2 separate regions of the Homo sapiens genome follow, and region 2 is linked to region 1. Evidence: promoter capture Hi-C in human tissues and cell types (Jung and others, 2019). All regions are on one chromosome and are shown on one strand. The core of a region is centred on a gene start or on the middle of the fragment in contact, and the rest is flanking DNA. Distances in the headings are between cores, read along the strand shown.

Region 1 (4,308 bases), core at 1-2,500:
TGTCCACATTTTTCCTGGAATAAATAAAGGGACACTAAAAGCAGCATCTGCCTTTAAAAAAGAAAAGAACAAAGTTACCATGTTGAGACTTTGCAGACTGAAGTTTCAGGGGATGTCACTGCACCAAATACATTCAAAGGGCTGTAAACCATTTAAGGAGGCTCTCTCCCACTTTTGAAACACTAAGTAATCCTGTTGTGAGCAAAAGGAAAGAAAGAAAGAAAGAAAGAGGAAGAGAGAAAGAGAGACAGCCAGTCTGACTTTTACAACTTCTCATTCTCCCTGGAAGTTACAAGTCTTGGCTAACCACCCATCCCTGACCTCACTCCAAAGTTCTCTCAGTCACTCCTTGAATCTTTGCACATGCCAACAAAATTGAACAAAATCCACATTTTACCTGAAGAGTATATTTAAATTGCAAAATAGTAGATTTGTGTGTGTGCTTCCCCCAACCCCAATTGAAGTTGGACTTAACACCTTCTAAGAGAACAATACTCAAATTAGATTAGCAAGCGTGCCATCAAGAGAAGAGAAGACCGGGCTGTGTTTAACATTCACGTTTATAGCTTCCGGACTTACAGACTCTGGTAAATCCCCCAAAGTACTGAATTCAAATACATCTTGGACTCACAAAGATTCTCAGCAGTTTTCTGCTCCATTTAAGGATGCCTCTTAATAAAGTGTTCATCATTCTGGAATTACGTATTTACTGCCAATTTTATCTGTTTCCAAACTGATATACTAGAAGCAAAACAGGTAAACAGTGGGTGCCAAGCTAATCCCCATGCCAAATTGGTCAGGCAGAATGGATAGTCTGTGTTCTTGCAAAGTTCCCCTGCTTACTGGAGCTTAAATAGCCACACAGCAAATAAACACCAGATTCCTAAATACACATGGAAATTTCCTTCTGCAAGTGACTTAAGAAAACTGCCCTTTGCTTTCTGAAGAGAAAGGTGAAGCCCTCCGAATTAGCAAAAGCACTTTGCAATGCAGCTGCGTGCAGCCTGGGTTTTCAGAAACCAGACCCGCAGACTCAAAAGCACCCATCTGAGCGATTTTAAAGAAGGCCTTTGAAAAGACCACTTGGCTTAAGAGCAGAAGCCGTGCCTTCTTTCCGAGCAGAGCTGCTGCCCGAGCACCGTTTCCTTACCTCCGGGCTGGCTGGGCTGGCTGGGCTGGCTGGGCTCGCTCGCCTTCCTGGCTGTGCTGTGCGCTGGCTCCCTTAGTGCTGAGCACTTTGCAACAACTGTGAGCTCTGCTGGCTGCAGACTTGCATTATATACACTGCAGAAAGGAGCCTCTAGCCTCTAGATGGCAGCTTTGTAACCCACATCTCTCTCTCCCCCGTGCCACCCCCATCCCACAGGCAGACACACACACACACACACCCCCCTCTTGTAAACCTCACTAGTCTGTTGTTTCCTGCACAAGTGTACTCTTGGGAAACCCCAGCCTTCTTTCATTTGCAAAATCTGGTGAAGCCACAAAGTCCAAACCCCACGGGGGGAAAACGTCAGCCAAAGACAAACTGCAAAGAAACCCTAGTGCTTGGCAAAATCATCAAATATTTATCTGGTCTCAGGTATATCTTGAATAATCCCATTAACACCAAGAGCTCCTGTGAATGCCTCTTCGCTCTAGGGAGGACTTTGTTCCCAAGACAAATTACTCTGAACTTCTGAACTTCGATGTTGATTTACTAAGCCTGGGTTTTCCTTGTTAATTCCTCCAAAACAGAAGTAACAGTTTTGGTATGACCAATGAATCGATGCCACACCGTATATCCCCAAAGTGGAGAAAAGAGTCTTTATAATAGATTATACTTGAATACTTTTATTTGTAAAGGACTTTAAGTACAAAATCCTTGAGACTCTAATCAAGATAGTATTCTACAGTGTCTGCCCAGTGCCAGACACGCATTAGGAAGATAATAAATGCCTTTTGATAATGTCTTTTTCTGAGATGAGTCTGGCAAACACTTTACTACAATTATTGCAATCTACATTCTTATTTGGATGCGTATTGCTAAAGTTCCCCCCACGGAGGAATTCAACCTAAAAATGTGATCCAGGTGATACTCATCTCCAATGCCCCATTTACAAAAATCGTCCATAAGATAGGGACCCAAAGGCCACCCGCCAGCCCATCCCATGTGCAATGCTCTGGCTTTCGTATTGCTTTCTGATCTCCTGGAGTTCTTAAAGAGCGGCTCAAGTGGAGTGTATGAAGGCACCAGCTGTATTCACGCCTTCTCCAGAGCTAAAACTTTTCGAGATTCTTTTTATACTTCTACTAAAAATAACAGCAGACGCTCGGTCCCAGCGCTGAATCTGGGGGACTGGGAGGTCAAAGTCTCACGTGGCTAGAAAGTCTCCGTGTGGAGAAAGCCCTTAACGAAAGAAATATTTTGTTTAGCTAAAAGCTTCACATTTTTCTCCTGAACTGGCTGCCCAGCGGGAGGCGAGGTGCACACCTGCTCTCCGGGGGCCTCCGGAGGGGTCGCCCTGGGGCCGGCCTTTCCCAGCCCGAGCGCAGCGTCCCGCCACCGCCTCTGCAGGGCGGCGCAATCACTCTTCGTGTCACATCGGCACCAAGGACATCTCCAGGCTCCCCAGAGACGCTGGAAAGGAAAACTGCCAGCGGCTGCGTCTACCCACACCCAAGATCTAGGCGAGACCTCGACTCTCCACAGCATACGTGTCCTGACTTTTTCTGTCCTGTTTCTTTCTTGTGGGGGACCCTGTGTCTGAGCCCGCTGGAAATGTACGGGGATCCCCTCTGGACTGCAGCTCGGTTTCCGCTTTCTGTGGCTGTAGCCGTGACTCCGGGGCCTGTCCTTCAGAGAACGCGCTCCGCATTGCAGAGCCTGCGCGCCCGGTGGAAACACAGAGTGGGTGTCAATCCGTTCTGAGCTAAGTGTACTGTCGCTGGAAGAAAGGCCACATGGGCCGGGGACCCCGGACAGGATGCTAACGTAGAGGAAGGAAAAGGCAACGCAGTTTTTTTAAAAAGTAGAACCCGCTTCGTGCGTCCGGGGCCAGAATCCACGAGGCCGCCTTGCAGCAGCCTGCGCCCTGCCCCGCCAGCCCCGGCCCCGCGCCCACCCACGGCCTGCACCCAGCCCCGCACCCACACACGGCCTCGCGCCCTCCCACAGCCCCGCGCCCTGCCCCGCACCCACCCACGGCCCGCACCCACGCCCTTCCCCGCGCCCAGACTTGTTCCGCACTCACGCACGGCCGGGCACCCGGCCCAGGCGCCTGCGAGAATTCTGGCCCCGGGGTCACCGCCCTCGCCCTTCGACGTCCCCCACCCGTCCCCTAGTTCCGCCGGGCGGGGCTGCTGGAGGCTTCCAGACGGGGAGGGGCGGACCAAGCGCCAGCGGGGAATGGGGCGGGGTGGGTCGGGAACTCTGGCCAGGCTCCCACCCTGGGAGGAGGAGCTGGGTGCTTGGGGCCTGAACTTGGCTGTCTCCTTGGGCCTCCCACCCTGTCCCAGAAAACAGGCCTGGGGGAAAACGAGAGGGTAAGCAAGCAGGGCTTTTTGAGAAAACGAGATTCCATTGCCCTAGGACCTAAAAGTCTCTTTTCAAAGTTTTGAAGAGTGTCTCTGCTTTTGGAAGATTGTGCTTTCAGTGTAAGGGCAGAACTCCACCTCCATCCTCTAGGGGTCCCGGCTGGGTCCGAGAATTAAATTGACATAAGATAGATGAATAGGAGGAAAGCATAGTGCAAGTTTCACGCGGCATGGGAGCCCTCATACAGAAATGCAGACCCGGCCGGGCGCGGTGGCTCAGGCCTGTAATCCCAGCACTTTGGGAGGCCGAGGCGGGCGGATCGCGAGGTCGGGAGTTCGAGACCAGCCAGGCCAACATGGTGAAACCCCATCTCTACTAAAAAATACAAAAAATTAGCCCAGCGCGGTGGCGCGCGTCTGTAATCCCAGCTACTCGGGAGGCAGGAGAATCGCTTGAACCCGGGAGGCGGAGGTTGTAGTGAGCCGGGATTGCACCATTGCAATCCAGCCTGGGTGACAGAGTGAGACTCTGTCAAAAGAAAAAGAAGGGAAGGGGGAAGGAAGGAAGGAAGGTAGGAAGGAAGGAAAGAAGGAAGGAAGGAAGGAAGGCAGGCAGGCAGGCAGGCAAATCCTCCTTGGGGAAAGAAAGAAAGAGGGAGAGACAGAGAGAGAAAGGAAGAAAAGACAGAGAGAGAAAGAAAGAAAAGAAAGAAAGAAAGAGGAAAGAGATGACGACCCGAACAAAGAAAGCAAGAAAGAAAGCAACAGAGAAAGGCAGGCCCTAGCAAAGAA
Region 2 (4,424 bases), core at 1,460-3,959, 530 kb before region 1:
AATTTCTTTCTTTGAGAGATGGTCTTACTCTGTTATCCAGGCTGGAGTGCAGCGGCATAATCATGGCCCACTGCAGCTTTGACCTCCCAAGCTCAAGCGATCCGCCTGCCTCAGCCTCTCAAGTAGCAAGGACCACAGACATGCACCACCATGCCCAGCTGACTTTTTAAAATTATACTTTTGTAGAGACAGGGGTCTATGTTGCCCAGGATGGTCTTGAATTCCTGGGCTCGAGCGATCTTCCTGCCTCAGCCTCACAAAGTGCTGGGATTACAGGTGTGAGCCACTATGCCCAGACAACTACATAATTCCTAAGCAGTTAGAGATTTCCTAGTAATCTCTATGGCTTTATTGATTTCTAGCTTAATCCCACTGTTTTCAGAGAATGCACTCATTTTGATTTCTACTCTTTGTAATGTATTAGGGCTTTATGGTCCTTTATGTGTTCAATTTTGGTAAATGGTTTATACAGCATAAAATGAAATTATATTTTGTCATTGTTGGTTAGTGTTTTATGTATCCCAATTAGATCAAGTCTGTCACCTTTGCTATGTTCTTTGTGATATTGTCTGTTCATGCCATCAGCTAATGAGAGGTGTATTATGTCTTCCAGTATGATTATAGATGACTCTTTTCTCCTTTTAGTTCGGTAAACTTCCACTTGATTATATTTTGAATATAAAATTAGAATTGCTACATATTCCTGTTGCCTTTTGGACTGATCTCTGTAGAATAACGGACATCCAAAAATGTCTATATTTGAATCCGTAGAATCTCAGGTTATATGGGAAAAGGAAATTAAGATAGCAGACAGAACTAGATTGCTAATCAGCTCACCTCAAAATAGACTGAGTATCCTGAGTTTCCAGGTGGGCCCAATATAATTACAAGGGTCCTTCAAAGTGGAAAAAAGGAGGCAGAAGAGAGAACCAGAGATCGAGCAGTGTGAAAATAACTCTACCCAATGTTGCTGGCTTTGAAGGTGGAGAAAGAGGGGCATGAGCCAAGAAATGCGGGCGGCCTCTAGAAGCTGGAAAGGGCAAGGTAACAGCTTGTCCCCTAGAGCCTACAGAAAAATATGCAGCCCTATTGACATAAGCCCAGTGAGACCCATTTCAGATTTGTGGACTGCAGAACTGTAAGATAATACATCTGTGTTGTTTTAAGCCATTAAGTTTGCAGTAATTTGTTACAGAAGGAAACTATATGCAATCTTTTTCATTAAAAATTACTTTCTATCTCTAATAATGCTTCTTGCCTTGAGGTCTACTTTGCCTAATACAATCACCCTTCGATATTCACAGGGGATATACTTGGCTTCAAGACTGCCAAGTATACAAAATCTGTAGATCAGAGTCCTTTATATAACATAGTATTTGCAAATAACCTATACACATTCTCTCGTATACTTTAGATTTAATACCTAATACAATGCAATGTATAATTGTTATGCTGTATTTTTTTAGAAAAATTTCAAATATTTTTGAGCCACAGTTGATTGAATCACAGATGTAGAACCCACAGATATGGAGGGCCAACTCTTACTATCAAAGGTGCACCAACTTTCTTTTGGTTAGTATTTGCAATGGTATATCTTTTTCCAACTTTTAAATGTAAGAACACAGAAATATTAAAAGAGGATCTTTTGTATATAGCAGTTAGGATTTTATTTTTCTTTCAACATGTTAAAAATGCCATTTCACTGTCTGGCTTTACCACTACTTCTTTGAAGATAATGTCCCCCCGGGTCCTCCCTCTGTGCTTTTAATATATTCTCTTTGTCTCTGGTTTTCAGTAGTTTTACTACTGTTGTCTGGGTGTGGTTTTCTTTGCATTTATCCTCTGTGGGGGTTTTCTGAGCTTTTTGAATCTGTGGATTGATTTCTTTCATCACTTTCAGAAAATTCTGGGCTGGTACTTCTATTTTTCCACTCTATATTCTCGCTCTTCCTTGGATTCCAATTAGATAAATGGTAGATCGCTATGCTGTGTACCACATGTCTCCAACACAATTGCCAGTTAAGTTCCACTGTTTCATTTCTGTACTTCAGCTTAATATTTTATATTGACCTGTCTTCCAGGAGCAGTTTTACTAATATTCTACTTCTGGTTTATATTTATAAGCAAACACCTTCCCCCACCCAACAACCTTGTTTAATGGAGCGCTGACATAGCAAAACTCCAGGAAAACGGAACTGTTTCTCAAAGGTTTTTGACTTGCTTTTTGGTCTCCTACCCTAGGCAGCTTAAAAGTTCACCAAATGTTTTGAAGGGTAAACAGTGTGGTTTAGCCCTCTCAAGTCTCCATTGTTATCACCCCAGCCCTTTCAAAGTGCCCAAATTCCACAGGTTGTTAGGTTATTCAGCAGCAGGCCCCTCACCAGGCAAAGCTTGAATCTTGCTGTGCCCTGTGGAATCAGCAAACACCTGCCACCGACCCTGCAAAGAGCTGCTGCAGATGACCTCATTGCAGTACTCTCAAATCTTAGCTCCACATTCCTCATTGATTTAGGGGCTGATGCCTCTCAAGGGATAAATGTGGGTATTCACCTATTAGTTATTGACACAATTCTGAGTTGGCCTCAAGGTACTTCAACCCAGGAACAGACATTTTCATACTTACTACCACCCCCTGACTTTTTGTCATTTATTTTTCAAGCAAACTCACTAATCCTGTTAAATTTCCCACATTCTGGAACTGGCTGTTTCTTAGTGGGATGTTTAACTTGTTCCATTAATTCTCACATTTTATGTAAAGTAGCAGATCTAAACCTTTAAATATATATATATGTACATGTATATATGTATATATTTATATACTATATATATGCATATACGTATTATATATATATATATATATATATACACATATATATATATACTTATATATATAAAATTAAATTCAGGTGCTTTCAGTCTGATTCATGTGTTACACACTTCCCTTTGATTTGACTAGGTCCCCGATCCCCGCCCCAAGGCAGAATAGCATAGGTATGTAAAGATATGTAGACAGATCACTTCTATTGATCTCCGGGAACAAGAGACAGGGAACCAGGAAAAGTAAAACAAGGAATGAGGAAAAAACAATTGAAGGCTGCATTAGAGAGCTTATGACCATGGGACACCACAGCTCAATTTTTTGGGGGTTCTTTTTGAGGATCTAGGTATAGAACACATTGGAAATAGTCTGCCCTGAGACAAGGAAGAGAGTGTTTATTCACCATGTCATGTTCACAACTGCTGATGGGCTGCCCAATCAGGTTTGTGTGGGCATCCTGATAGTAGTGCCAGGGTAAGTCCCAGAGCAAATTTTAGAGATATCCAATGGATCTGAAACAGGGTGCTGTCAGGCTACACTTGTACACAGATGGCTGGCTCAGAAATAGCCAGAGCACAAAGACAGGCTGATGGATGTACTGGACATATTTCATGCTCAATCTCAATTTCTTACCCTGTGGTCTCAACAGCATTGATATATATTTCCATGATCCCTTCTTTGTTTCATTAAGGGCTGCAAGTACCGTTTTTCTAACTTTTATCTTTATTCGGTGGAATTTTCCAGCATGAGCTTTTTGACTACCCTACAGGTTCGATTTTGTTGCTTTAGAGATTGGCAGCATATCAATTTGTCCTGAGAACTGATAATAAAGGGAAGTGAAATCAAGCACTTACCCTGCCTTTCTTGTACAGTGATGAGGTTATTAAGAGTTAAAAACAGACACATATACAAATATTTCATGCTCAAACTGTCTCATTTTTACATGGCCTGTAGAAATCCCTTCAAGTTGGCTTGTATAACCCTTTGACAGAATCCCAAGTCTTTAAGAGCCTCCTTGAATCCTGGACATCTTGTACCAGATATGAACTTGTACACTTACTGCCCTGGAACTATTAGCTGTTTTGCAAATAAGTTCTGATTCCTTTTAATTGCAAATGAAAATGAAAGAACACCATCTGGGTACTAGTGGTGCTCATTGTTACTGAACTGTAATTACTCTAGACCTTTTCATGTAGACAGGAGTGGGAAATATTTACTGTTTACAAAGAAAAATAAAGCATATAATGAGGTTTCCATGTCAAATTTAAGATTACTGGGGTCTAATGTTACATGATTATTAATTTAATCTATACTTTTAATAATAAAAAAGATATCAAGATTTTGTGAAATTAATCATGAAAAACCACATTCATTAGTCTAAGATTTTTTTCTGTCCTTAGTGTATATCCCACTGACAATGTAAAATTGAAATATTGTGTTTGATCACTTGAGATTATTTTTTCTCTATGTAGTAGTTCACTGTCCTCTCCTTCCTCTTTAGGGAACTATTATATTCATTTTGTATATATCCCCCAATTGCTTAGTTTTGAAATATAAGGAAATATGTACATATATATAATTGTAATCATTCTCCTTTTGTTACCCT

What was found. Contacts are between HindIII fragments. The study calls those that stand out against the background at their distance.
Region 2: a fragment that was not itself captured here is called in contact with the fragment with the promoter of ACKR3 in region 1 in 1 of the 25 tissues and cell types used here (spleen).

The regions. Positions count from the first base shown.
Region 1 is chr2:236,566,767-236,571,074 of GRCh38, reverse strand. ACKR3 (atypical chemokine receptor 3) reads right to left here and starts at 1,250. Exons shown (of 2, transcript NM_020311.3): 1 at 1,151-1,250. RefSeq lists enhancers at 2,014-2,889, 2,890-3,765 and a silencer at 3,191-3,240. The HindIII fragment of the contact is 7,550 bases long and covers 1-4,308 here.
Region 2 is chr2:237,099,239-237,103,662 of GRCh38, reverse strand. COPS8 (COP9 signalosome subunit 8) reads right to left here. Exons shown (of 8, transcript NM_006710.5): 8 at 3,189-4,424. Among named protein-coding and RNA genes, the nearest start is that of COPS8, 16 kb to the right of the region's middle. The HindIII fragment of the contact is 7,817 bases long and covers 1-4,424 here.